6 separate regions of the Homo sapiens genome follow, and all the other regions are linked to region 1. The links are contacts of gene promoters, found by promoter capture Hi-C in blood cells and fetal thymus (Javierre and others, 2016). All regions are on one chromosome and are shown on one strand. The core of a region is centred on a gene start or on the middle of the fragment in contact, and the rest is flanking DNA. Distances in the headings are between cores, read along the strand shown. Region 1 holds the start of DNAJB11 (DnaJ heat shock protein family (Hsp40) member B11). Region 2 has its middle 18 kb from the start of ST6GAL1. Region 3 overlaps DGKG (diacylglycerol kinase gamma). Region 4 overlaps DGKG (diacylglycerol kinase gamma). Region 5 overlaps ST6GAL1 (ST6 beta-galactoside alpha-2,6-sialyltransferase 1). Region 6 overlaps DGKG (diacylglycerol kinase gamma).

Region 1 (4,696 bases), core at 1,433-3,932:
ATACAAAGGTAAATTAGACCGTAAAATGCAATTTAGTTCCTCTTTTGTGTGGCCATTGTCCCTACTGGGTATCTTCCTGAAAGCAGGGGCTTCAAATTTACACATACCTGGGTTAGGATCCAGGCTGCACCACTTATTAGCTCAGTGACCCTGCTGTTACTTGTTGAGTACCACTGTGTGTCTGGCACAGTGGTACGCACTAGAATGACAGAAGTGAACAAAACAGACAAGGTCCTTGCTTTCTTGGAGTGTATAACAGGGAGAATAGACAATACATATTAAGGAATAAAATAAGATAATTTCAAATAGTGAAAAATGCTATGAAAATTGGGGCGGGGGGTCAGGGAAGGCCACTTTGTGGTGCCAAATTTGAGCTGAGGCCTGAAGAGTAAGAAGCCAGCCATACAATGATCACCATCCCAGTAACTTTGACTCAAAAGTACTTCAGCACCTACTCCATGCCAGGCACTGTTCTAAGGTGCTCTTTTATACAGCTGTGAACAGAACAATATAGATTCATGCTCTCATGAAACTGGCATTTCAGTGTGTAAGTCTAGGGACCAGGGATGAAAAAAATAGGAGGCCGGGCGTGGTGGCTCATGCCTATAATCCCAGCAGTTTGGGAGGCTGAGGCGGGTGGATCACTTGAGGTCAGGAGTTCGAGACCAGCCTGGCCAACATGGTTAAACCCAGTCTCTACTAAAAATACAAAAAAATTAGACGGACATGGTGGTGTGCGCCTGTAGTCCCAGCTACTCGGGAGGCTGAGGCAGGAGAATCGCTTGAACCCAGGAGGCGGAGGTTGCAGTGAGCCAAGATCACGCTACTGCTCTCCAGCCTGGGCGACAGAGCGAGACTCTGTCTCAGGAAAAAAAAAGAAATAAAGAAAAGAAAACAGGGTGGTGTAAGAGTAAGGAACTCAGTAGGGGCTAATTTTGATTAATTGGTCAGGGAAAGTCCTCCCTGAGGTGGCGACCTTTAAGCTGATATATGAGTTAAAGAAGGAATCACCCATGCTAGCACATGAGGGAGAGTACAGTGTTTCAGGCAAAGGCAATAGCTAGCACAAAGGCCCTCGGCAGGAATGAGCTCGGTGTATACAAAAAAAAGAAAGGAAGCAAGTTTTGCTGGAGCATGGTTAGGAGTATAATAGGTTTACAAAGCATAAACGGCTTTGTAAACTAGCATGGAGTTGGGATTTTATTCTAAGTGCAAATGAAGAGCCATTCCAGGCTTTTAAACAGGGGAGTGACATGATTTGACTTTTATTTTTTATTTATTTATTTATTTATTTATTTTGAAACGGTGTGTCACTCTGTCGCCCAGGCTGGAGTGCAGTGGCAGGAACTCGGCTCACTGCAACCTCCACCTCCCAGGTTCAAGCAATTCTCCTGCCTCAGGCTCCCGAGCAGCTGGGGTTACAGGCGCTCGCCACCACACCTGGCTAATTTTTGTAGTTTTAGTAGAGACAGGGTTTCATCATGTTGGCCAGCCTGGTCTCAAGCTCCTGACCTCAGGTGCTCCGCCCGTCTCGGCCTCGCAAAGTGCTGATTACACTTTGGGTGGGTGAGCCACCGCGCCCGGGCTTTTTTTTTTTTTTTTTAAATCATGGAGTGAGGGACAGGGATGAGCAACATATATTAAGATATTAAGGAAGATATTAAGAGTGGGGGCAAGGAGGCCAGTTAGGAGGCCCTGGCCAGGTGAGAGATACACTGTGACCCAGAATCCTGGTAATGGAGATGTAGTGAACAGATTGAAGTATAGTTCAGAGGTAAAGAGTTGGATAGCTTATGCATGAAAGGAATAAAAACACCTAGAGCTTTGTCCTGATCAACTAGGTGTTGTGTAACTGCGATGAGCAAAATCGGGGGGAAGATGGGGAATCAAAGAGTTCTGCTTGAACCGTAATAATGGTTTTTACTCGTTGCCTGCTTACTATACGCCCGATGATTTACCGATTTTTTTCCCTGTTAAAATTCACAGAACTGCCAATAAGTGCTTTGCCTCAGTTTTGTTGATAAACTTAGGCTCAGACTTGGGAGGAGGGGAGGGGTGGGGGGTCTCACCACTAAGAAGCGGTGGAAGCCGAATCCGAACTTAAGTCGGTCTGTCATCACTGTAGCCTTTCCGAGACAGTTGTCTTATGGAGTTGCTTGGAGAACGTAAAATAAGAGGCCTAAGCAATGCGTCTGATGTACACCTGTCGTGGAATAACTGTTCCCGCTCATTCGGCCGCTGTACCTCTGCTCCCTCATTCGGAGCGTAGCTGGGTATGAATGAAATTCCGGGCTTGTAGCACAGAGAAAACTTCTCTCCCACAATTGGTTGGTGCTGGGGAGGAAGCTCCTGATTGGTGGAAAGTCCGAGGAAGTGGGCAAGCCGGAGGGATTTCGTGTACCTCAGGTGCCCTCACTCTGACCGGCCCCCTATCATTACGTAATTTTCTACGACTCGCGGTAGCTCAGGCAGAGCGGGTTCCTGCAGCGGCGCGACCCTCTGACGTCTCCGCTTCTAATTGGTCAAGAGCTGCGACTGCAGTTCTGAAGCCTAACTGGTTGCCCGTGCCGCCTCGGAGGTGAAGTGTACTGCGCTGATTGGCTTCCAGGCGCCGGCCGCGTGTGATGTCCCGGGCAACGATTGGCTCTCGCCTACCGGGGGCTTCTCTCACCGGGACTCGGGACTCCCGGGAAGTGGACCGGCAGAAGAGGGGGCTAGCTAGCTGTCTCTGCGGACCAAGGAGACCCCCGCGCCCCCCCGGTGTGAGGCGGCCTCACAGGGCCGGGTGGGCTGGCGAGCCGACGCGGCGGCGGAGGAGGCTGTGAGGAGTGTGTGGAACAGGACCCGGGACAGAGGAACCATGGCTCCGCAGAACCTGAGCACCTTTTGCCTGTTGCTGCTATACCTCATCGGGGCGGTGATTGCCGGGTGAGGAACAGACACTCGCAGACAACGGGGCCTGTGGGTCAGCCTTTGCTGGGGGGTGGGAGGGGGTGGGGGAAGTGGCATTGCCAGACTGACGGAGTGGAGAGGGGCATCGCTGTGGGTTGGCGGGGTGGCGGAGGAAGGGGTAGTATGGGCCAGGCTAGTGGGGTGAGAGGAGAACCGTGGGTGACACCAGTGAGAGGGCCTTAGGTCCAGAGAGGGTCTTAGGTAGAGCTAGATTTGCCCAGAGGAGTGGGAGTTGGATGCATTGCCAAACGGCATTTGGGGGATGAGGGAAAGAAGGTGGTTGCGAGCTGAAGCAGTGTCACGTAGAGCTGGGGAAGAAAGAGGGATGCCTGACTGTAAGGAAAGATAGTGACAGTGCCAGGCTGAGGTTGAGGGGATGGACGTTTGTTTGATCAAAGAGGTGAGTTGCTGTGCCCCGCTGAGGTGGAGAAGCGGACGATGCTCTATGCCAAGCCTTCGAAGAGCCATTCTGGGGCTGACATTAAAGTGGGTGGATGATGCCAGCCCGAGTTGGGACTGAACGAAATTGGATGCGGGATGGGAACAAGAAGATCTTTAGACAGCCCTTGTACTTCCCAGCTTCTTGAGCTATTTATTATCTTAAGTTGCTTCATCTTTAACATTCTGGCAGTGCTACTGTTAGGACATTTATGTGGCATAATCTTTTTAAAGAAGGAAAATCATCCTTTGAGAGTGTTATTTGACTTTTAGAAAAGTCAAAATCATTTGGAGCCAGTATAGGGAAAGGGGGGAAGAGTTAATTTGATTATATGGTTATTGCCTAAAGATAACATGAGACCATAAAATAAGGAAGTGGTTTTCTTGACCGAAGGTGGTTCTGAAAGAAAAGTGCCACAGATGTTTTGAATAATCCGAAAAGAAGTATATAGCCTCTTACTGTGATTACTTCAATATATAAGATTCATTACAAATTCTGGTGTTCTCTCTTTAGTCATTCTTTGTGTGTGTATGTGTCACATAAACCTTCATTTTTATACCTCTTTGCTCAGATACAAACCTAAATGTAGAGGAAAAATAAATCTTTTACTTTGAAAAATGTAACATGTAACTCTTTAATGAAGTATTCTCTCCCTCTACTTCCCAGACGAGATTTCTATAAGATCTTGGGGGTGCCTCGAAGTGCCTCTATAAAGGATATTAAAAAGGCCTATAGGAAACTAGCCCTGCAGCTTCATCCCGACCGGAACCCTGATGATCCACAAGCCCAGGAGAAATTCCAGGATCTGGGTGCTGCTTATGAGGTGAGTTGGGAAAAGTGATAAAGTACGAATAAAATCTGTAGCTCTAGAAAAAACATACAATACAGAGAAACACTCCTTTCAGCTCACATTTATTTATTTATTTATTTATTTTGAGACTGAGTCTCTATTGCCTAGGCTGGAGTGCAGTGGTGCAATCTCCGCTCACTGCAACGTCCACCTCCTGGGTTCAAGCAGTTCTCCCGCCTCAGCCTCCCAAGTAGCTGGGATTACAGGTGCATGCCACCACACCTGGCTAATTTTTGTATTTTTAGTAGAGACAGGGTTTCACCCTGTTGGCCAGGCTAGTCTTGAACTTATTATAGATTAATAAGTAGATCAACTGATTGGTCTGTCGTTCAATCAGTTTGGGAGCTAGAACCAAAAATAAAAAGAAAGCCTTCATGAGAGTTGCAAACCTGCATGTTCATATGAACTAGACAAATAACATGCAGGGCAGGTATAAGTTAAAACATGGCAGCAGA
Region 2 (4,904 bases), core at 1,947-4,446, 340 kb after region 1:
TGGGATTACAGGCATGTGCTACCACGCTCAGCTAATTTTGTATTTTTAGTAGAGATGGGGTTTCTCCATGTTGGTCAGGCTGGTCTCGAATTCCTGACCTCAGGTGATCCTCCCGCCCTGACCTCCCAAAGTGCTGGGATTACCAGTGTAAGCCACCGCATCCAGCCTATTTATTTGTTTTTTGAGAGTGAGTCTCATTCTGTAACCAGGCTAGAGTGCAGTGGTGTGATCTCGACTCACTGCAACCTCCACCTCCTGGGCTCAAGCGATTCTCCTGACTCAGCTTCCCAAGTAGCTAGGATTACAGCATGTGCCACCATGCCCAGCTAATTTTTGTATTTTTAGTAGAGACAGGGTTTCACCATGTTGGCCTGGCTGGTCTTGAATTCCTGACCTCAAGTGATCCACCTGTCTCGGCCTCTCAAAGTGTTGGGATTACACGTATGAGCCACCATGCCCGGCCAGGTTCGTAGTTTTTAAAGTTTGGAAGATACGAGTTCCCATCCCAGCTTCAATCTATGCGAATTTAAACAAGTTTCCCATTTCTCTTGCTCAAAAAAATGGTTGTTGGGCTTTTTTTGTTTTTTAACCAAAGTGATAACATGATATCCAGAAAAGTAGAAAGAAGAAAACAATAAATTACCTCCATATCCCACCATTTAGAAATAAAATTAAAATTTGTGAGCATGCTTATAGATATTTCCAAGTGGATTTGTATGTTAGAATGATACATAAATAAATTCAAAACTAATAACCTAGGATTATATTCTATATTCTGTTGTTTAAAAGTGAAAAAAGAGGTCCTGACGCAGTGGCACACACACCTGTAATCCCAGCAGTTTGGGAGGCCGAGACAGGTGGATCAGGAGTTCGAAACCAGCCTGGCCAACATGGCAAAACTCCAACTCTACTAAATTACAAAAATTAGCCAGGCGTGGTGGCATGCTCCCATAATTCCAGCTACTCGGGAGGTTGTGGCAGCAGAAATACTTGAGCCTGGGAGGTGGAGGTGGCAGTGAGCCGAGAATGCACCACTACACTCCAGCCTGGGCGACAGAGCAAGACTCCGTCTCAAAAAAAGAAAAAAAAAAGTGAAAAAAGGATTGCTGAGATTCAGGTAATGTTTCTTTACCATGAGAGATATTGGGATATTGGCTACTCTTTTAAACCCTTTAAGCAGGGCCCCACCCTGGGTCCAGCAGGCTATATATTAACCTACACAGGCAGTTTGATTGGCTTCACACAGTTAATTTAAAGAAATAGAAACTAGGCTGAGCGTGGTGGCTCATGCCTGTAATCCCAGCACTTTGGGAGGCTGAGGTGGGTGTATCACGAAGTCAGGAGATCGAGACCATCCTGGCTAACACGGTGAAACCCCGTCTCTACTAAAAATACAAAAAATTAGCCGTCTAATTTAGTCTCGCTCTGTTGCCCAGGCTGGAGTGCAGTGGTGCGATCTCGGCTCAGTGCAAGCTCTGCCTTCCGGGTTCACGCCATTCTCCTGCCTCAGCCTCCTGAGTAGCTGGGACTACAGGCGCCCGCCACCACGCCTGGCTAATTTTTTGTATTTTTAGTAGAGACGGGGTTTCACGGTGTTAGCCAGGATGGTCTCGATCTCCTGACCTCGTGATCCACCCGCGTCGGCCTCCCAAAGTGCTGGGATTACAGGCGTGAGCCACCAAACCCGGCCACATTGCACTGCTCTTTAGAGAAAAATCTGATTTTTTAAAAAACCCTGAGAGGTGACTGGATTTTTCTTTCTGAATATTTAAAGAATTTTTTTTTTTGCCTTCAACTTTAACAGGCATACGCCTAAATATCTTTTTTCAACCAATATTGTTGGAAAACAATGCATCTTCTTGAGTGAAAAACAGAATCACTTTGGAGAGATTTTCCTGTATTACATTTCTAGATAATTTCCCTAGTTAATTGTTGTAACTCTTATTTCCAGGACAGTAGTAGTTGTTATGTTAGGTGGTTTTTATCATCTATTCTTTACATGTCTTAAATTCCTTATCCTTTCTTTCTATTTTCATTATGATTATACCAAGCCTTCCTTCCACAAAAATAATTTGATGCTCGGTTGGTTCTATTGTGTTACTTGGTTATTTTTCTAGGTTATTTGTTAGATGTAAATTGGGATTTTGCTACACAACTTGTTTCTTTAGTACTTTAATCTCCCTTTTAATCTTATGCTGTTATTTTATCCTTTTGTCTTTGTGTTCTTATTTTGTTAAAATCGTATACTTTATTAGAATGTGATATATGTCTGAAGAGTGATAAATTCACAATGAGTATTGCACTGTTCCTTGGCTTGGGCTACGTTTTCTTCCAGATTGGATTACTTTTCTCTATATCGAATGCTTTCATAGCTTCTGCCCTGTTTCTTTTTGTTATCTAGCCCGTGATTGACACAGACGGTTTGGTAATCTCGTTCCATTATTTGGTTATATGTGGGTGACTTCTCCTTGAAGCCCTTCTATCATGTGTAAAACCCAGTAGTCGCCGGGCGCGGTGGCTCACGCCTGTAATCCCAGCACTTTGGGAGGCCGAGGCGGGCGGATCACGAGGTCAGGAGATCGAGACCATCCTGGCTAAAACGGTGAAACCCCGTCTCTACTAAAAACACACAAAAAAAATTAGCCGGGCGTAGTGGCGCGCGCCTGTAGTCCCAGCTACTTGGGAGGCTGAGGCAGGAGAATGGCGTGAACCCGGGAGGCGGAGCTTGCAGTGAGCCGAGATCCCGCCACTGCACTCCAGCCTGGGCGACAGAGCGAGACTCCGTCTCAAAAAAAAAAAACAAAAAAAAACCCAGTAGTCTTTCCATCAGGACTACAGGGGCTGCTTGCTGTCTACATTTCCGTAATTTGAGGGCATAGGGAAGGCATGGAGCTGCGCACAGCCCTTGCTAGAGGACCTGGGCATGACACTTTCTGAGATCTCATTAAGATGTCCAATTTTGTACCCCGCTCCTGTGTGCCTTCCCTAAGCCAGCACATGCTCTGGAAGCTGTCAGGCCCTGGCTGTTCTGCAATTTCTATGGTGGTATGTAGTGGCTTCTGCTTCTAAGCATTTTGTCTTGACTTTTCTTCAAGCTTCCTTTTCATCCTCTCAGTCAGATTCTCTGCAGATTGAAACAGGGAGAGCGATTCCTAAAAATTATTAGAAATATTGCCATTGTATCTACTTCCCTTCACACTACTTCTAGAAAAGGTAAGTATGAAATTATGATCCCTGTGTCACCACACCAGAACTTTATATTTCTTCCTCTGACAACTTCTTTTTGACAGCTAAGGCATAAGCTTGAATCTCTTTCCTTGCTGCTGGTAGATTTTTTGCAATGTCATTTTGGAAGGATATTTTCAACGAATATAGAATTCTAGATTGCCAGGTGTTCTTTCCTTCTCTCCCTGCAAACACTTTAAAGATGGTCCACTATCTTCTGGTCTCCATATTTTCTCTTTTCTTTTCTCTTTCTTTCTTTCCCTTTCTTTCTTTCTTTCTCTTTCTTTCTTTCTTTCTTTCTTTCTTTCTTTCTTTCTTTCTCTTTTCTTTCTTCTTTCTTTCTCTCTTCTTTCTTTTCTCTCTCTCTTTCTCTCTCTCTCCCTCCTCCTCTATCTTTCTTTCTTTTTTTTTTTTTTCAGAGTCTCTCTCTGTTGCTCAAGCTGGAGCGCAGTGGTGCAATCTCGGCTCACTGCAACCTCCGCCTCCTGGGTTCAAGCAATTTTCCTGCCTCAGCCTATCGAGTAGCTGGGACTACAGCTGCGTGCCACCATGCCTGGCTAATTTTTGTATTTTTAGTAGAGATGAAGTTTCACTATGTTGGCCAGGCTGGTCTCAAACTCCTGTCCTCAGGTAATCCACCTGCCTCGGCTTCGCAGAGTGCTGGGATTACAGGCGTGAGCCACTGTGCCTAGCCCTCCATATTTTCTCATGAGGATTCAGAAGTGATTCAAATGACTCCTCCACTATGTGAGGTATCATTTTTTTCTCTGGTTGCTTTCAAAATTCTCTCTTTAGTTTTCAACAGTTTGACTATGATAGGCCTATATGTGTCTTTATTTACATGTATGCTGCCTGGGGTTCACTGAACTTTAATTTATAAATGTATGTCTTTCAACACATTGGGGAACATTTAAGCCATTTGTTCTTCAAAATTTTTTTTCTGGTCTCATTCTCTCTTCTACTTCTGGAATTCAATTACCTGTATGCAGGTATTTTTATATTGTACTACAGGTCCCTGAGACCCTGTTCAATGTTTTCAACTTTTTTTGTCATCAGATTGGACAATTTCTATGGCTATAAAATTCTCTCTCTCTTTTTTTAAATCAAGTCCATCCAGTGAATTTTTAATTTAAAATATTGCATTTGTCAGTTTTAAGTTTCCATTGGTTCTTTTTTACATAGTTTCTATTTCTTGTTTGAGATTTCCTGCCTTTCATTCATTAAAGTATACTTTCCTTTACTTTGCTGAGATGAGTTGTAATACCTGCTTGAGAGTTCTTATCTGCTGCTTGGGGTTGGCCCAAGTTGATTGTTTTTTCTCTTAATCCTGGATCATATTCTCTGGCTCTGTGCTGTTTTTTCTCTTAACTTTGGATCATATTTTCTGGCTCTGTGCATGGTATGTGATTTTCGAGTATATTTAGGCATTATAAATTTGATGTTCTGGAGATTCTACGTCCTATTATGTTCTTCTGAGAATGCTGGTGTTTTGTTTTAGCAAGCACTTAACTTAGCTGAGCTCAAACTGCAAAACTCTATCTCTTGGGTCATTTTCACTACCATTAGGTAGGCTGATTTGAGCATGCCTTATGTGAGTGTGGTTCAGGAATCTGCCCAAATCTTGATCAGAGTTTATACACAGGATCCAGGTCTTTCTTACTCTGGCTCATTTCTTTCTA
Region 3 (4,713 bases), core at 971-3,470, 310 kb before region 1:
GGGGAGGGAGGGCGCTGAGAGGCCGTGACTGCACCCAGGCCTGCTTTCCTGGCTCCAGCTTGGAATTGTCAGGTCAGTTCAGGAGGGGTGTCCTGCCCCTTGGACAGGGGTGGGGGTCCTCATAGTTCTTGCTTTAACTCTACTAATTATTATTTTTTAACCTGGATTCCAGATCACGGTGCCATCTGTTAATGATCCCGGAATTGGGAGGCAGAGCTGCTTTAACCATTCTCCCTGTCCACCTGTGCTGTTCAGCAATTTCTAGCCTCCGCTGAACTGGGCATTTCAGCAAACTGATGAGGTGGATGCACTGGCTTCTCACGGGTGACGGTAGCCCAGCAGGTCCTAATCAACGGGCTGCCCATCATCTCTTAAATCAAGAGATCTGAGAGGCTAGAAAGGCACAGGCATCTCAGAGCGTGGTCTAACTCTAGTGGTCTTAATAATGGCTCACGTGGCAGGCTGTGGGCTAAGCACCGTGTCTGTTCTCACCTGTGAGAGGAGGAATGATAATTATCTCCATTTTACAGAGGGAGAAACCGAGGCCCGGGGACATTAAGTCACTTGGGCCAGGTCATAAAGTGGCAGGTGGCAGTGCTGGGATTTGAGTCTGCCTGTCTCCACAGCCTGCTGTGTTCCTGCCAAGGGGAGGAAGGGCCTGAGTCGTGTCGCCCTAGTTGCTCCACTTTGAAACAGAAGAGAACGTACCTTTCTCCTTGTCTCCCTCCACTCTTGGGGTTCACCAAGACCAGCAGGGGGTGGGTACCCGGGGTGGGGATGATCTTATACTTGAAAGGTAAAAGAAAAAGAAATTAGCTCTGCTTCATCCAATAGGGGGCGTGAGATGAGAGTTGAAGCCAAGACAGCTTCGGAGAGGCAGATGAGAAGCAGGAGGGCAGGCAGTCAGGTGTTTTTCCACTGGCTGAATTTTCGGAGGGGCTAAGTAGCTAAGTGTCTCCAGTTTGAATGGCCTTTAAGTAGTGTTAACGGAAATGAGGGTTTGAGGTCAGGATCAGCGATGGGACAATGATGCTGTAGCTTCAAATCATTCAACGATGACGTGGTCTTGTACCTACAGCACAAGATGAAATTTTGTGGGAGACACAGCTGAATATGATCTTAGAAAGCACGGCCGTCTGATCATACGCGTAAGTGAAATAGCACTCGTGGAGTGAACCACCCGCTTCCACCCTGGCGCCTTCCAAATGCTCATTTCCGGCCCCAGTTTCCTCCTGAACCCTGGTCCCACATTTCTCACTGGCCAGTGGGTAGTACTGTCGACTGGACGTCTCACCATCAGTACAAGCTCAACATGCCTCATACATGACCCATCTTCTCTCCCTATGAAACTCGGCCTTTCTCTTGGTTCCCTGTTTCTGTTATTCATCCATCCATCCAAGGAAGGTCTTGTCCTGCCAAGTCTTTCCCTGAAATGTCCCTTTACCTCTGGTAGCTGCCACAGCCCCATGCTGCTTGTGCCTTTCCCACCCTAGGTAAGTCCTGCACACCATCCCCACACAGTTCCTTCCCAGGACACCAGGTCAGCCATACCACTCTTGCCCAAAAACTTGTAAAGACATCTCATTATTAAAGGAGGATTTGGATTTTGTGGATAAAATGTAAATTTCCTAACCTGGCATCAAAGGCCTTTTCAGTCTAGCCCTATTCTACTGTTATCTCCTAATTCCTGCTAACCCTCAGCTGCAGGTGCAGCCAAGTCCTGCTCTTGCTCCTCTAGTAAGTCTAGAGTGTGTCTCTTGCATTCCCACCCATGGGTCTGCTCGTGCTTGTTTCTTCTCCCATTCCATGTCCCGAAATGCCCACTTCCTTCTTTGCAGACTACTAAAAAAATTTTTGGCTGGGCATGATCACTCACGCCTATAATCCCAACACTTTGGGAGGCCGGGGCAGGAGCATCACAAGGTCAGAAGTTCGAGACCAGCCTGGCCAACATGATGAAACCCCGTCTCTACTAAAAATACAAAAATTAGCCGGGCGTGGTGGGAGGTGCCTGTAATCCCAGCTACTCGGGAGGCTGAGGCAGGAGAATCGCTTGAACCTGGGAGGTGGAGGTTGCAGTGAGCTGAGATCTCGCCACCGCACTCCAGCCTGGGCGACAGAGCAAGACTCCGTCTCGGAAAAGAAAAACAAACAAACAAACAAACAAACAAAAAACACCACCACCACCACCAACAAAAACCTGCTTATCCTCAGGGCTCAATTCAAGAGACATCTCTATGAAGTTTCCCTTCATCATTGCAACTAAAATGATTGCACTTAAAACATGTACTATTGGCTGGGCATGGTGGCTCATGCCTGTAATCCTAGCACTTTGGGAGGCTGAGGCAGGCGGATCACCTGAGGTCAGGAGTTCGAGACCAGCCTGGCCAATATGGTGAAACCCCATCTCTACTAAAAATACAAAAATTAGCCGGGTGTAGTGGCGCATGCCTGTAATCCCAGCTACTTGGGAGGCTGAGGCAGGAGAATCGCTTGAACCCGGGAGGCAAAGGTTGCAGTGAGCTGAGATCGCACCATTGCACTCCAGCCTGGGAGACAAGAGCGAAACCCCATCTCAAAAAACAAGCAAGCAAGCAAGCAAGCAAGCAAGCAAACAAACGCACCATGTACTATCTTCTGGAGTTTCTTTTGTTGTTCATTTGTATTTTTTTTTTTTTTTACTTTCTTAGATAAATGACTCAAAACATCAACTGGATTTAAAATGCATTGGGAGCAGAGTGGGGTGTGTGTAACCCTACTACCAAGGACCCTATAGCACCAGACACAAGAGTGGGTGCTCAGCAAATACTTGTGGGTTCAGTGGAAGGATACACCAATGTGGACGCACAGCTCTGCTCCATATTCAATATCTAATGCCTGCTTTTCCAGATCTCAAGCTAAAAGTCCAGCAAACACAGTGCCATGTTGTTTGAAAAGGATAGTAGCATTTCCGATGATCTAAAAAATTTGTCTCACCTGCCCAGGGTGACTATGTGATGCCCAGAAGCATCTTGGAGGCTGAGGAATAAACCCTCACCTCTGGAGATGATATTCAACGTATTTAACAGCCAGTCCTACAGTGGGGGCTCTGCCCCATCAGAACAGATGCAAGACAACCCGATGGCTGCCTGCCCTAAACAACTGGCATACATGTATCGGGTGTGGATATGCATGCGCCTGTGTGTGTTTCCCACCTTTCTGCCCTTCTAGGTGTCTAGAGCTTTCTCACATATTAAGATTCTCCCCTCATTCGGCCTTATGTTTCACTTTTCTTTTTCTTTTTTTTCTTTTGAGACATAATCTCCCTCTGTTGCCCAGGCTGGAGTGCAGTGGCAGAATCTCGGCTCACTGCAACCTCCACCTCCCAGGTTCAAGCGATTCTCCTGCCTCAGCCTCCCGAGTAGCTGGGATTACAGGCACCTCCCACCACGCCCGGCTAATTTTTGTATTTTTAGTAGAGATGGGGTTTCACCATGTTGGCCAGTCTGGTCTCGAACTTCTGACCTTAGGCGATTTGCCCGCCTCAGCATCCCAAACTGCTGCGATGACAGGCGTGAGCCACTGCGCCCGGCCTTTTACTTTTCACAACACGTGAATCTGTATATTCTCATTTAATCTTACAGCACCTCTGGGAGGTGGGCAGGGCAGGGATTACTGTGTCTCCTTTGAGCGGAGGAAACTTAAGGCTCAGAGGCAGAGCAGGAGGCCCCGGTTTTCTATTTCCTTTTCTAGTACTCTTTGTTCCTCACCAGGCTGCCTTCCCTGCATTCCTTGGAACTCTGTGGAAGACACAAAAAATGTTCATTGCTGAACCCAAGTAAAAAAAATGAGTTCTTAAGTATACATTTAAGGATTAAGAAGAACTTTTAGATCTGGTTAGCTTCATTTTGGCAGATCATGTTCTGGAGACAGCTTGGCAATCTTGAAAAACCCATTGTCTATTTTTAGGCCACATCTTTGTTATTATTTAGGACATCTGCATATTAAAGTTTTATGTAACTTTTTCCTAAAATAGTAATAAAGCCCAATAAGACCAGCAATGGGATCAGTCAACCTTTCCTCTCACCACTTGCTGACAGTGTGGCTGTCAAAGGTAACACCAGAGGCCACAAATAAATGCCCTCCTGGGTGGTATAATTAGTCAGATGAGAAGGCAAATGCTGAGATGCTTTTCTGTAGAACCCAAACCCCGTCTTGCCCGCCACAGCCCTGGAACAACTTAGAAGGTGCAATCGGATTTAGAGCTCATGAGGTACCTGCATGACAAGTTCGCCCTTGGCGGACACGCAGCCATCAGACTTCTCACCTGGCCTGTCCTGTGACAAGAAAGGAAAGACAAGCATCTTTTGGAAAAAGAAGCCTAACACAAAGAAAGAGATCAGATGAAAAACAAACGGCTGATATAAAGAAAGAGATCAGAAAGCTAGTGTAGTATGGAGACGAGGTTTTCAACATAGGGCTTCTGACCTAAATAAAGAAATGTACCCCTATGACTTTTTCTAGGATTCTTCAGGCCTCCAGTGATGACATCACGGGCTGACTTTACCTTTGAGGCAAGGGACATAGTGGGGAGCACTGAAAGTGGCAGAATTCCACTTGGTTGATTTAGAAGCTTGAGCTCTGAGAAGAAAATTCTTAGACTTGGCGACTTGGCTTTTCTTCCTTTCTTTTTTTTTTTTTTTTTTTTTTTTGAGACGGAGTCTCGCTCTATTG
Region 4 (4,792 bases), core at 520-3,019, 330 kb before region 1:
ACACAGAAACCAGGGAGTTGACTAGATTTGTTTTGCAATGAAAAATATACAAACCCATTTACTGGAATACATGGCTACAAAACACTTGAAATTCCATGCAGTGAATTTTGAATTTTCATCAAATGCATATTAATTCTATTTCTTATATGAAAATTTCTGTGTTTTTTTTTTTTTTTTTTGAGATGGAGTTTTGCTCTTGTCGCCCAGGCTGGAGTGCAGTGGCATGATCTCGTCTCACTGCAACCTCTGCCTCCCAGGTTCAGGCAATTCTTCTGGCTCAGCCTCCTGAGTAGCTGGGATTGCAGGTGCCTACCATCACACCGGGCTAATTTTTGTATTTTTAGTAGAGACGGGTCTTCGCCATGTTGGCCAGGCTGGTCTCGAACCTCAGGTGATCTGCCCGCCTCGGCCTCCCAAAGTACTGGGACTGTAAATGTGAGCCACTGCACCTGGCCTCTGTGTGTGTTTTTAAGCATCAAGAGGTATAGTTCTATGAAGAAGCTTTTTGAGCATGAACTCTGTGTGGTGAGGTGCACCTGGCATAGGAGTCCAGCAGCCCACATCTGAAAGGTGGCAGGGCAAGAGGAGAAGATGGGCTTATTTTGTGATTGGCAAACATTCTTTGCTAAAATGATGTTTTGAGAGTTTAAAATTTAAACTTTAGCTATTGATGTTTTTTTTTTTTTTTGAGATAGAGTCTCACTCTGTCACCCAAGCTGGAGTGCAGTGGCACAATCTTGTCTCACTGCAACCTTCACCTCCCAGGTTCCAGAGATTCTTCCGCTTCAGCCTCATGAGTAGCTGGGATTACAGGCATCCGCCACCATGTCGGGCTAATTTTTTGTATTTTTAGTAGAGACAGTGTTTCACCATGTTGGCCAGGCTGGTCTCAAAACTCCTGGCCTCAGGTGATCTGCCCAACTTGGCCTCCCAAAGTGCTGAGATTACAGGCATGAGCCACCAGGCCTGGCCAATTTATTTTTTAGCTTAAGATATATTAAGAGTTTAAGGTCTTGGAGAGGCACCCCCATGGGTGCACGGGTGAGATGTGCGGACCCCAGAGAGGCCTCTGTCCCTGAGGCCTATCCAGCCTGCACCGCTTCCCTGGGCAGCAGCACTTCATGCTCCCAGACTGTACCCACCTCCCACTCTCTGAGCAAATTTCAGTGAACACCCTCAATAAGATTCATGTGACATTTGTCAAATGCTTCTCTAAAATTCGAGAAAATATTCCATCTACTTCTATTCCTTTGAAGCACTAATTTTCGTCTGTCAGGAAAAAAAAAGTGGAGGGGGGCGGGGAAGAAAAAAGCAATCACATGTTGCCTGGCACAATTTGTACTTCGCTATCCCCTACCCCCAATACTGCTGATTGACTCCCAGCTTTTTTATTCTCCGGGATATGTGTACAGGCCCCCTCCTTCCATGCAGTTCTGATTGTCTTTGGTTTTTCCATAACTAGGTTTTGCAAAGATGCTTTTTACAAAGACCAGCCTTTAAAACATTATTAGTGAAGCACGTGGTCCCTAATTTGACAATGTAATCCCTTGGCAAATACACAAAGTAGCAAGGGAGAGTAGAGCAGCTCCTTTTCTAAGTCTTAAAAAGGCAATGAGGGTGAAGACTCTGACCACGTTTCTCTATCTGGGGATTAAAAAGAGAGTCGAGATTCACTTTCACTCTCTGGAGCTTCTATGTCAGGCAATGACCTGAGCATATTTACAATCAGTAGTGACTTCATTTAAATTTGGGAAACCAGGGCTACGATGGTTCAAACCCTTTCTTGGTTATTAAGGCGTAAACCCTTTCTTGATGATAATTAAGGCAAAGCGAGACTTCTGTTCTGAAGGCAGGAGATGGGAATTACAAATCCATGGAAGTGATGATAGCATTTCTCACAGCCTTACTCTCTGAGGTCTTTTCTTTCAGGTGTGGGGTGAAGAGGAGATGGTGGAAGGTATGGACATAGAGCCTCTTTCCTGAACTACAACTCCAAGCACATGGGTGGACAAAGAAATTTGGGCCCCTTCCAAGTACATGCATCAGTCATTTGGACTCTGAGATATTGGAGTATCTAGGCCAGTGCTATCCAATAGAAATACAGAGTAAGCTACACATGTAAATGTAACTTACCATTTTCTAGTAGCCACATAAAAAAGTAAAAACAAAAAACAAACAAACAAAAAAACAACAACAACAAAAAAAAACAGATGAAGTTAATATTTAAAACAATTTTTAAATTTTTTTATTTTTTTGAGATGGAGTCTCACTCCGTTGCCCAGCCTGGAGTGCAGTGCCATGATCTCAGCTCACTGCAAGCTCTGCCTCCTGGGTTCAAGTGATTCTCCTGCCTCAGCCTCCCAAGTAGCTGGGATTACTGGCACCTGCCACCACGTCTGGCTAATTTTTGTACTTTTAGTAGAGACGGGGTTTCACCACATTGGCCAGGCTGGTCTCAAACTCCTGACCTCAGGTGATCCACCCACCTCAGCCTCCCAAAGTGTTGGGATTACAGGTGTGAGCCCCCACGCCTGGCCTGAAATTAATTTTAATAATATATTTTCATTAACCCAATAAGCCTTGAATATTATCATCACATGGAATAGAATAATTATTGAGACATTAATTTTTTATATCACATTTTTGAAAAGTATTGTATATTTTATACTTACAGCTCACTCAACATCTTAATTAAGACAAGCCCCATTTCAAGCATGTCATACCACATGTGGCTGATGGCTATTACATTGGATAACACAGGTCTAAGTCACTTTGGCAATTTACGGAGATAAAAAGATGGAAAGGAGACCATAAGACAGATTATTTGAAATTGGGGTTGTTCTGAAAATTATGGGAGATTGGGGAATGGAAAAGGGTATAGACCCTTGTCCACGTCCCTCTGGGGAGTCCCACTGTATTAGTATCTTCATGGCTCTCACAGGTGACAAATAACCTGGTGCCAGCAGAATCCAAGAATCTGCAGGAAAAATTATGTCTTGTTGAGAAATTCCCTATGTGTAGGACGCTTATCATGGTGGGAAGCTTGTCTGGTGATAGCTAGGAACGATCTGCAAGGTGGAAAACGGTGCGTGGGTCAGTGCAACCACTGTGGCCTCTCCTTGGCCCTTGGGCTCCCCTAGCATCAGAAATAGATTTCACTGAATCAAGGGATTAGCTGTTCACCCGTCCTGTTAAGGCTCATGAAAGCAGAGCTTGTGAGGAGTTCAGAGTTACACATACCTTGGGAATTATTTTGTAGTCCCAAACTTCCTGTCACTGATACCTGGCCATCCTGACATTTTCTGCTAATCTAAAAATAAAGAACAGGGAGGAGCAGGCCAGAGAAGTCAGAGGAAGTGGCATCCTGAATGACTGTGTTTAAAATCTCCTGCCAGTAGATATTATCAGTTAGAAGGACTGATAAGGCCAACGATCTTAGCTTCTCACTGGTGAGAAACTGATGTGTGGATGGGGCTGTCGTAGCAATGAGGGCACAGTCACTCCCTGGAGAGGCCAGGAGACCCTGCCTTATTTATTCCCTCAGCTATTAAATGGGTTCTGTTGGCATCAAGGGGTCTCAGTAAACTCATCAGAGAAAATTCTACCCACAGCACCCAAGGGCACTGTCTCAGAGGTCATTGTCATCATCTTTATAAATACAAAGCAACAGATGTTTGCTATCATAAGATATTCTAGGTCCTTCAAAAGAGGCAAAGACCTTGGCAGGGCTCTCTTTGCCAGTGGAGTCCGCCTCTATTTGATCATCATAAGGAAGTAAAACTTCCTCGGTTTACATACCTACTTCTCTTACAAAGTTTGGGAAGTCAAATAGGGAGCAAGACCTTCTGCAAATGTCAGCCCCAGACTCTGTTAGGGTTGCGTGTTGGTTACTTGTTTTCTCAAGAATTTCTCTTTTCAACTTTTAAAGAGCGAGCATACAAACCCTGCAAACATTTTATTGAGAGAAAGCCAAGGGCACACCAATGAGATGAGAACAGCCCTGGTTTCTCATTCTTCTGCAACATAATATTAAACATGGATAAGCTAAAGGTGTATGAAAAAAATTACAAGAAAGATATTGTGAAGTTGTTCATAATTGGAAAGATGAATAGATTGGATTATTATAAGTCAGCCCAAGGTAGGTAAATTATCTTGACCACTGAGAGTGATGGAGAATCTGTTTATATGTGTTTCCTTGGGGACAATTAATTAGCCAGCCAGCAGGACTTCCTTCCTTCCTTCTTTCCTTCCTTCCTCCCTTCCTTCCTTCCTTCCTCCCTCCCTTCCTTCCTTTTTTCCTACTTTTTTTGCTAGAATAAATTAAAACTATGATTACTGAATAGTCTTGGCTCTTGGGTTTAGGGCCTGGCTATTTAGTTGAGGGAAGGCTGTCCATTCCTCTTTGTGTGTTCATCCATTTGGTCAGCAGATACTAAGGAGGGCCATCTTATACAGGGCACTGTGTTGAGACAGGGAGGTGTGGGGAACCATGTTTTTGTCAGCCAGAGCTGGGTGTGTTAGAAAGGGAAGAGGTGGGGCTGAAGCTTCTGCAGGCAGCTGCGCTGTAACCTGCTGTCTAGAAGTTCCCAGGCAGCTCTGCCAGTCTTGCTCCTCAGCTCTGGCTTCCAGCCCGTTGCTTAGAGGGCTAGTTCTCCCCTCCTTCCTTGCTTCCCTCTCCATTTATTTCAGTTCCGGCTTCCATGCCAGCGAAGAGCCACTTCCTTTGACCATTCTTCTCTGCTCTAGTAGGTTGTCTTCACTCCCTGAGAACTTGGTCAGGACCATCTGCATC
Region 5 (4,788 bases), core at 198-2,697, 460 kb after region 1:
AAAAGGACATTTGAAATACAAGCCCCATTTTAAAAAGTATTGATCTAACAGGCATAAAATTACTCTTTAAAATTACTGTAAAAGTCACTTACACTCCATTTCTGTACTTTTCTCATCTTGCATCTTGAAAAGCTTTCTCAGCCTAGCACTTCTCTGCAGATCTCACTTTCAGTAGCACTGTTCTCAGCGACCTGTTTCTCACCACTTGCCTGAGAATTAATTACCTGGGGTGCTTATTAAATGCAGATTTCCAACTTCCCCCCAATATTCTCCCAACCTCCCAGACTACTTGAATCAGAATGATTGAGACAGAATTCAGGAACCCGCATTTTAACAAGTGATTTTAATAATTTGGGTGTGCTCTAAGTCTGAGAATCACTGTGCTCCTCAGTGTTGCCTCCTCTCTACAGATAACAGATAAGAGGGTAAATAGTGAAGTGAGTGCAGTGTTTTATTCCGGCCCCCCTTCTTGCCCCGTCTTCTTTTCTCAAAAAAAATTTTCAAAGGCTTCCTTTCTGTAGAAGCTCACTGACAGAACCGACTTTCCGGACTCAGTGCACTTCAACAAACAGGTATTGAGCTCAAACTGCAGGGGGCTGGGTAGGTGGAGAGCTGACCGCAAGATGCTCACAAGCAGTAGAGGGTGAGTATAGGTAGAGAAAGGGCAGGTCTAGGGCATTTCTGTGCATAAAGTGGGGCAGAAGAGAAGGAGCCAGCAACGAGACCAGTAAGGCATTACCGGTAAGGCAGAGAAAAGCCAGGAGAAGTATAGGTTTTGGAAGCTAGGTGAAGAATATGCATCAAGGAAGAGGAAGTTATGGACTGCTGATGAGCTGAATAAGATGAAGACTGAACATTGACCATTTGGTTAGCAATGTGGAGATCGTGGAGGTCCTTGTGACTCTGACAAGATCAGGTTCATGGAGATGGGGAGGCCTGGTTGGAGTGGGTTCAAGTGAGAGTGGGAAGATAGCTATTGCAAACAAGACTATGGACTGTCTTTCAAGGAGTTTTACTGTAAAGGAAAGAGAAATAAGGCATTTTAAAGAAGAGAAATGAGGTCAAGAGGTTTAGGGTCAGGGCAGGGAAGTGGAGTTTATTTAGAACTCATGCAATAAGTGGCTCAATATATGACTTCTCTAAAGTCATATATCTTTTAGTTAATTCCTTGAGTAAAACAGAAACAATTGTCTATCGTGACTTTTTTCTTCAAGCTCTTTAAAACTCTCCCCACTCCCAAACTATATCACTGTCTAAGAAGAAAGGAGTTTGAAAATCAGTCTTGTTACATAGCTTAATTTGAATACATCCAAAAAATGACATTGCATTATTTTCATATTTGCTGAATCTATTTTTTGGCTGGAGTATTTTAAAGTAGATTTTTAAAGTAGATTTCATCTCTTACTACTTCACATGCATAGGACTTTTTCTTTATATAACCACAATACTTTTATACACCTAACAAAATTAACAATAATTTCTTAATACCATATAATAACCAATCTATGTTCCAATATCCCCATTTGTCCCCAAGGTGAATCAAACCAAGATTCAGACAAGGTGTACGTATTACATATTATTATATCTGCGAAGCCATTTGTTTTTTATTCCCATTTACTTGTTGATGAAACCAGTTCAGTTGTCCCATAGGAAGTCCTACCTTCTGGATTTGTCTGATAATTTTCCTTTGGCGCTATTTGACTTGTTCTTCTTTCTTCTGTATTTCCTAAAAACTGGAATTGTGTATGACAGCTTGATAATATACAGATTAAACATTTTGGGCAAGAATTTTTCATAGGTGGTTAGCAGGGCGTGGTGGTGCACGCCTGTGATCCCAGCTACTCGGGAGGCTGAGGCAGGAGAATCGCTTGAACCTGGGAGGTGGAGGTTGCGGTGAACAGAGATTGTGCCACTGTGTACTCCAGCCTGGGTGACAAAGCAAGACCTTGTCTCTAAAAAAAAAAAGAATTTTTCATAGGTGCTTCATGTCACGTCACATCAGAAGGCACACACTATCTAGATGTCTCACTGTTAATGATGCTAAAAGACTGATCAGGGTCAGGTCACGGCTGCTTGACTCACGAGAGGTGTTTTGATTTTGCTTTTTAAGAGCAGCAGCGTGTCTATATGTTGATGGGAGTAATCTTTGAGAGAGGGATACTTATCAATTAAACAAAGGGGTGAGGTTTTCTAGAACAACTTTCTTAAGTAAACAATAATGTGTAGGATCTAGTGGACAAGTGTTGGTTATTGCAAGTGTTGGACATAGCCAGTTCATCTATAGTAATGAGGCATATGGACATAAATGCAGATAAAGGGGGCTCTGTTAGGGGGTTTGAGGAAGTTCTAATCTGGCAGCTTTTGTTTTCTCCATGAACAAGTAGCAAATTCATCACAGGAGAGGGAGATTGAAAGGAGGAAGTCAAGTAGTGGGCGAGTGCCAGATGAATAGACTGGACAAGTAGCATGTGATTTCTGAAAAGCATTAAGGACCTCCTGGCAGTTAGGGATCGCGAACTTGAAGTGAAATCAGTAAGCATTGTTGTACAATTTTCTCTAGCCATGCTCAGTTGCATGTTTGCTGGTGTGGAGCAGAACAGAGGGTTGGATTTAACCAGGATTGAGTTTTAGCCAATCATGTGTGATCAAAGAGGGCAAAGGACTCATTTTAATGATTTTGACCATGGAATTTAAGCTGTGTAGGAAGGGAAGTAAGAATATGAGGAAAGTGAGGAACAGTGACAGGTGGAAGGATTAACCACAGAAGCTTGTTGGAGTTGGGGTACTAGTTGGAATAGGCTGCATATAGACAGGAGTGGTAATTGGAGATGGGATGCCTGAACTCAAGATTATGGAAGGTATTGTTGGGAAATAACAAGATCAGAGATACAACTCTGGGAGTGAGTGGCCGTGGTCACAATCACTGGGGTAGAGGAGATCAAAGGACTGTGAGGCCAGAGGACTAGAATATCCTAAAAGTGGATATTAATATCACAAGGAGTTATGATAGAAACAGTGTTGGAGCTAAAATATTCAGGCAACGAAGCACGGTATTTTGGGTGGGGGAGAAGATGGCTGCAGCCAGGTAAGTGGGGTCATAGGTAGCGCTGTCTGCACAGGGTCTCTGTGAGGATGACATGCATTGATGCATGTGATGCTCTTCACTTTGAGCCTGACAAATAGCATGTGTTAGAGGTTCAGTCTAACACTTGCTAGAGGCAACAAGTGTTAGAGGTTCACCATCTGAGTCTATGTGGCTCCAGTGAGTAGAGCTTAAAACACTGGGTTTATAGTTATTCATTTTTTATTTTATTTTTTAGACAGAGTCTTGCTCTGTTGTCCAGGCTGGAGTGCAGTGGTGCAATCTCAGCTCACTTCAACCTCCGCCTCCCGGATTCAAGCGATCCTCCTGCCTCAGCCTCTCAAGTAGCTGGGATTACAGGCGCCCGCCACCACACCCAGCTAATTTTTGTATTTTTAGGAAAGATGAGGTTTCACCGTGTTGGCTAGGCTGGTCTCGAACTCCTAACCTCAAGTGATCTGCCCGCCTTGGCCTCCCAAAGTGCTGGGATTACAGGTGTGAGCCACCGTGCCCAGCTGCAACACTGGATTTATTTTTACAGGGAAGTTGATTTTCATTAACTTTAATATATTTCTAAGAGGCAGAGCTACTCACACAGTTGTGTGTGGTCTGGGGCGGTAGTAAATTCCCTGTCATTCAGTGTATCCAACAGGCAAAATGAACATTTGCAATGATGGTGCCGTCAAGGTGATTCTGGCAACTGAAGGTGATGGGTGGGTAGGTGGGAGGGAGTGGCTGTAGCAATTGAAGGCAGTGGGCAGTGGGGAGGGATGGTGTCAGGAGCTAGCTTCATTCTTGCATTCAGACATGACTGAACATTTCCTAGTTGTGGCCCAGGAGCTCTCAATCTGGTTGGGACAGATCTGCAAACAGATAAATGTCACATAGTTTGATGAGGGGAAGAATAGGCACCATGGAGTTATGCTGATCATCTCTGTGAGGCCAAGGAAGCTTGAGAGTCAAGGAGCACTTGAGCTGGTGTTGGAAGCTGAGTGGGCATGGCCCCATGGGAACAGCACAGGAAACCACACTTTGCTGAAGAACTTCTTGTGCAGAGCTGCAAAGGCATGAAAGAGTCTTCGACATTTAGAGTGCCATTCTACTTAATCTGGGCAAATTATTTATCTTCCCTGTCTCAGTTTCCCTGTTTGTAAAAATGGGGGTAGTAATGGTATCCACAGAGGAAGGGATGGTGACTGTTGTAATCCCTTTGAGTGGATTATCTTTTTTTTTTTTTGAGATGGAGTCTCGCTCTGTTGCCCAGGCTGCAGTGCAGTGGTGTGATCTCGGCTCACTGCAACCTCCACCTCCCGGGTTCAAGTGATTCTCCTACATCAGCCTCCCGAGTAACTAAGATTACAGACACACGTCACCACGCCCCGCTAGTTTTGTATTTTTAGTAGAGACGGGTTTTCACCATGTTGGTCAGGCTGGTCACGGGCTTCTGACTTCAAGTCATCCACCTGCCTCAGCCTCCCAAGGTGCTGGGATTACAGGCATGAGCCACAGTACCTGGCCGAGTGGATTATTTTACTTGATTCTGTAAATCACACTATGAGGTAGGACTTGTTATTATTACTATTTCTATTTTATAGATAAAGATGTCTTAAATCTTGGGTCTTAAGGGGTTGAGTAACTTGCTCAAAGTCAGGTAGCTGGTGAAAGGCAGTTTGGGCTCTTGTCTTGATAAATCTGATTCCAAAGCT
Region 6 (4,822 bases), core at 1,951-4,450, 360 kb before region 1:
GTCGGCAGTCAAAGCACGTGACTTTTTCCTGTCCCACTGGACTTTTCTCTCCCTTCAGTTTACTCTTCTTTTTTTTTTTTTTTTTTTTTTTAAGACGGCGTCTTTCTCTGTCTTGCGCAGGCTGGAGTGCAGTGGCACCATCTCAGCTCACTGCAGCCTCTGCCTCCTGGGTTCAAGCGATTCTCCTGTCTCAGCCTCCGGAGTAGCTGGGACTACAGGCGCCCACCACCCACACCTGGCTAATTTTTGTACTTTTAGTAGAAACAGTGTTTCACCATGTTGGCCAAGCTGGTCTCGAACTCCTGACCGCTGGTGATCCACCCGCCTCGGCTTCCCAAAGTGCTGGGATTACAAGTGTGAGCCACTGCACCTGGCCTAGTTTACCCTTCTAAATCTCTGTGCCTCAGCTTGCTTCCCCATAAAATGGGGATAATAATCTCTGGACTACTTAGCTCACAGGGTTGGTTGTGTGACTTTGAAATAAAGGCTATGGTGGGGAACTGAAGATGGCGAAATGTAGTAGCAATGCCTCAGTGGGGTTATTTGCTGGCCTGGGGCTGGTGGGTCGTGTGCTGGTTCTCAAAGGCCTGGCCTGTTGTCTGCAGCAACCACGTTTAGAAGGTCCCTTAGCATAGCTGCTCTTACCAGCTCTTCCTGAGGCCCCTGACACTCTCCCATCTCCCTGCAAGGCTCTGCGGTCTCCTTACACCTGTTACCCCCATGCCTCGCCCTGTCCGTCTCTCTTAGTCCCCCTCTAGATCACAAGGCACAGGACCATTCACCGCTATTCTCTGGATACAGAAATGGTGCCTGCCCCAATCCTGAGGGCTGTCAGAAGCTGCCCATCACATGACACGCTCAGCCCCACTCCCCCAGCTAATCCTCATGAATAAATACTAAAAAGACTCATTATGGAGAGATAAGGAAAACAGGAAGTGCTTCTGAAAGCTCCCAACAACACCCTCCCTCCAGACCAGTGAACAACCCCACCCCCTCCAGAGGCCACCAGTGTCTTTAGCAACGAGGCCCCCTCTGCGGTTGAGGAAGAGCCTCTGTCTCTCAAACCCAGAGGGGACTGTGGGGCCTGGAGCCGGGAGGGCAGGCCAGAGGCAGGGGAGCTGAGTTGCTGTATTCTGGGCACAATTTCAAGGCCAGCTGCAGGGAGAACAAGCAGTCGCTGTGCGCCTGCAGCTGGCTGTGGTTAGGCCAGGGCTGTCCCTCACTTGTGGTATATTTAAAGAGACCTCACCAGACGGCTGTGCCAAGGGGAAAAAATGCACACATATCCCTGTTAGCCACACTCGGTTCCCCTGCCAAGGCCTCTCCTCCTTCCTCAGCTCCCAGCACTGCGTTCACACGTCAAGAGAGGAGGACCGGCTTCTCAGACTCCCTGTGTGCCACCTGGGGACACACAACCTGGCGCCTGGCCTCTCTGCCCTCTTACCAAGCTGGCCAAAAGTTCAGGGGATTAGCCAGATCGGCGCCTCCCACCCTGGCGTTGGTAACCCAGCAACCGAAGAGGAGAGGCAGGCAGATGAGTCAAATGCAGCCGCACAGAACCTCTGGCTTCGTGTTTTGTTTGTGAAAACTCCCTGTGAGTGAGGAGCACAGGGGCCCTTCCGGCAGGGAGGGGCAGGGCTTTCCTACACCACTCCAGGCCACAGGTGCCTCCTCCAGGGAGGCCCAGGCCCCACTGGACTGCAGTGCGGGCTTAGAGGCCAAGCTGGTGGGCCAAGAGGAGCCCACCCTGGCTGAACTCTCTGGCTGCCTCTTCCACTTATTTTCCTCAAGTGAAAAGAAGACTACGGGCCTAAATCCCACGGGAAGGTAGGCCTGGTAGCAAGAACTCTGGGCAAGAGAACCAATGGGCGTAAAGTCCCACGGAGCAGGTGTGCATAGAAGTTTGGGCTTTCAGGTGGCCAGACACCAAGGAGCTGTCCTCATGGCAATCAATGAGAGGGCTTCCGGAGCGAAGCCCAGCCAACGTGGGGTGAGAGGGTGGGAAGTGGGCAGCTTATCAACCAGGGGAGGGGAGCCAGCAGGCAGACTGTCTGAGGCAGGCCCCTACAAGTGCCGGAAGAGTTAGTGAAACACAAGTGCACCAACAGGATTGGCTACATAATTTGCGGGGCCTAGTTCAAAATGAAAATGCCAGCTTCTTTGTTAGAAAATTATCAAGGATTTCAAGACAGTGACAGCATAGGATGAAATCAAGGGCCCTTCTAAGCACAAGGACATTTTGTGACCACACAGGTTGCACACCCACAAAACTGACCCTGGGTACCTGTGAGTCAGCTCGCTGAAGCAGATGTGAAAATCAAGGCAGGTCAGCTGGGGGATGTCTGGCTGCAGCCCCTATACTCCCCACCCCTGCTGCCCTGTAACACCAGTTCCCAGACTTTTACCAGGCTTGGGACATTGTCTCTCCAACAGCAGCCCCTCTCCCTGTGCTGACGGCAATGGAGACTTTATCTCTCAGAAAAGAGGGAATCGCAAGGCCACGGTGGAAGGAGGGCTGAGGGCTGGAATGAAGTGTGGCTCTGGGCTCTCGGGGCCTCTGAGTCCCAAAGCCCCCCAGGGATTCTCTAGACAGGCCACTGGAGCCTTCTGAGTGAGCGTATGGAGGTGTTTTGGAACAGGATGGAGAAACAACAGAGACTACGCTCTGGGTCACCTCTTAAGGTCCCAAGAGGATACATCCTGTGCATGTGTGACAGTCCAGGAGCAGAACCAAGATCCAGGAAGCCTTCTCCCCACTTGGGAACTTACCTCCAACTCAATGTGGTCGTGGAGTTTCTTGCAGGTCGCTGCAAAAGTCTCCGAGGTGCCAAATTCAAAGTACCACAGCTTGTTCTTCATCCTGGACCACAAAGCAGAGAGATGTCTCAATATTCCATACTTGAAATGCTCATGTAAAATAGCTATGTTCTTTGGATTGGGAGGCCCAAGCCTTCAGCAATTTCCCCAATCTTACATTTTCAGCACTTGTTAATCAGATGATCAAGGAATAGAAATTTTTTACCAACTGTTCTTGCTCGGAACTTAGAGAAAATCCACTTATTTCTTAGACATCACGGCAACCCTGGGTGAACTACCAACTGCTCCCCGAGTTTCCTGGTCAGAACAGGAAGAAGGTCTCTGTAGCTGCATTAAGGAAAGAGCTCTACGAGAAGTCAAGCCAGAGGTGGCAAATATCAATACAGTGCTCTGGCCACTGTCCTTTCCATTACTCAGGCAGAACTCTCTTTTGGGTATGTTTGGGGTGTAAAGGGAAGATCCTTCTAAGACTTGAGGGATGTGCAGTCTTAGGACAGAGGAGGGATAGCCCCACACTAACCCAGCTAAAATGTGTGCTGCATTGCCCAGGCTCTGACTGGGGGAAGCAGAGTGGCAAGAATTAGATACAGACTTGCAGGCAAGTTGGAAAAAAAGAAGAGTTGATTGGTAGCAATAATCACCTCCCCTCTTCCTCAAATGTATTTGCTTAGGCCATGGCAATCCTTCAGTTAAGGGCAAGACTTGTCATATTTGCTTCAAAGTAAGAGTTCACTACTTTGAGCTTTAAAAATTTTCAGCATTTTCCTTGAGAGAAAAAAAAAATCAATCAATGGGGTTCCCGTGTAGCTGGGGGCTTTGCAAAGTCAGATGGTGTGTCCTGACACTTGGTGCTTTTGATCAGATGGTCTCACTGGGAAGTGTTTCTGAAGGTATTCCATTCCTTCCACCCCAACTGTCACCCCATTATCAGGGGTTGGCTAAGAGAAGGGACACCTGTCCAGTTTACGAGCTGACAGATTTTGCTAAGGAAGGATTAAACAAAATCACATTCTTCTTGGCACTCAGAAGAGAGGATGCCACCTTGCATGGCGCTAATCCTCTCTCCTCAGGTTTGCAGATGAAGGGGAAAGGAGCAGTCTTCAGAGGGAAGAGGGCTCTTATTTTTTCCTCATGTTCCTTAGGTTGTAGCAGATGACTCTCCAGAATAATAGACACAACTCTTTTCTGCAGATTTCCCCAAGAGTCTACCTAGAACTTGAAGATGAAACTGTGTTCTTCCATTGTATGAAGACTTCTGAGATCTAGTTGGTTGGGAAATAGCTTCTCTGACTCTTAGTATGCATGAAAAGAACTAATAAATGATGAAGAAAGTAAGAGTAAGCAAGCTCTGGGAATTATGCCTCATGAACAAAATTAGAAGAGCTGGGTGTACTGTAAGCAGACCGGTGCTTCTCAACCCATGTGCTGTGGCACAGGCGTACCTGGGATGTCAGTCTCCTCAGCCTGCAGAGCAGCCAGGTGGGATCTGGGACAGGCTGAGCCCCAATGCCATGGCAAACATTCTCATTTGTATTCCCAGTGTGCCACACATAGATTTTCATTTTCTATGCATGCCATGATGATGTAAAATAATTGGGGGAAACATTGTTCTAGATGACTGGTTCTCTGCATGCACAGTCATGTGCATATCTAATCACTTGGGGATTTTATGAAGATGCACATTCTGATTCAGTGATTTAGGGTTAGGGCCCAAGATTCCTCATCTTCAGTGCTGCTGGTCCAGGGGATACTGTGAGTCATGTGGATCTGGAGACTATGCCTGTGGTTCTCAAACATTGGTATTTATAAGAATTACCTGGGGAATGTGATTAAAGTGCTGCTTCCAGGGCTCCAATCTGTAGAGATTCTATGAGAGAGTTGTGGAACGGGGCCCAGGATTGTGCATTTTTATGTGTGTCCAAGTGATCATTATGCAGATGGTCAGTGGACAGGACATTGCTGTAGATCCCAGTGAAATGAAAACATGGAAAAGGACAGAACCAGT

The links. Contacts are between HindIII fragments. The CHiCAGO score rates a contact against its expected background, and 5 or more counts as called.
Region 2: a fragment that was not itself captured here is called in contact with the fragment with the promoter of DNAJB11 in region 1 in 1 of 17 cell types (total CD8 T cells); the score reaches 5.0 in total CD8 T cells.
Region 3: a fragment that was not itself captured here is called in contact with the fragment with the promoter of DNAJB11 in region 1 in 6 of 17 cell types (naive B cells, megakaryocytes, M2 macrophages and 3 more); the score reaches 7.0 in naive B cells.
Region 4: a fragment that was not itself captured here is called in contact with the fragment with the promoter of DNAJB11 in region 1 in 1 of 17 cell types (total B cells); the score reaches 5.1 in total B cells.
Region 5: a contact is called between a fragment that was not itself captured here and the fragment with the promoter of DNAJB11 in region 1, in 1 of 17 cell types (naive CD4 T cells). The highest score is 6.4, in naive CD4 T cells.
Region 6: a fragment that was not itself captured here is called in contact with the fragment with the promoter of DNAJB11 in region 1 in 1 of 17 cell types (fetal thymus); the score reaches 6.6 in fetal thymus.

What each region holds. Positions count from the first base shown.
Region 1 is chr3:186,568,038-186,572,733 of GRCh38, forward strand. It overlaps DNAJB11 (DnaJ heat shock protein family (Hsp40) member B11), which reads left to right and starts at 2,683. Exons shown (of 10, transcript NM_016306.6): 1 at 2,683-2,928; 2 at 4,058-4,214. The coding sequence starts at 2,861. It also overlaps a transcript of TBCCD1 not described here. RefSeq lists a silencer at 2,695-2,934. The HindIII fragment of the contact is 6,099 bases long and covers 1-4,696 here.
Region 2 is chr3:186,910,517-186,915,420 of GRCh38, forward strand. No RefSeq gene overlaps it. Among named protein-coding and RNA genes, the nearest start is that of ST6GAL1, 18 kb to the right of the region's middle. The HindIII fragment of the contact is 207 bases long and covers 3,094-3,300 here.
Region 3 is chr3:186,260,991-186,265,703 of GRCh38, forward strand. It overlaps DGKG (diacylglycerol kinase gamma), which reads right to left. Exons shown (of 25, transcript NM_001346.3): 14 at 4,257-4,316; 15 at 709-788. Among named protein-coding and RNA genes, the nearest start is that of DGKG, 99 kb to the right of the region's middle. The HindIII fragment of the contact is 4,780 bases long and covers 1-4,610 here.
Region 4 is chr3:186,243,735-186,248,526 of GRCh38, forward strand. All of the region lies in intron 19 of DGKG (diacylglycerol kinase gamma), which reads right to left. Among named protein-coding and RNA genes, the nearest start is that of DGKG, 120 kb to the right of the region's middle. RefSeq lists an enhancer at 4,420-4,469. The HindIII fragment of the contact is 2,541 bases long and covers 500-3,040 here.
Region 5 is chr3:187,027,135-187,031,922 of GRCh38, forward strand. All of the region lies in intron 2 of ST6GAL1 (ST6 beta-galactoside alpha-2,6-sialyltransferase 1), which reads left to right. Among named protein-coding and RNA genes, the nearest start is that of ST6GAL1, 99 kb to the left of the region's middle. The HindIII fragment of the contact is 2,635 bases long and covers 131-2,765 here.
Region 6 is chr3:186,209,026-186,213,847 of GRCh38, forward strand. DGKG (diacylglycerol kinase gamma) reads right to left here. Exons shown (of 25, transcript NM_001346.3): 21 at 2,770-2,860. Among named protein-coding and RNA genes, the nearest start is that of ETV5, 100 kb to the left of the region's middle. RefSeq lists an enhancer at 903-1,530. The HindIII fragment of the contact is 8,579 bases long and covers 1-4,822 here.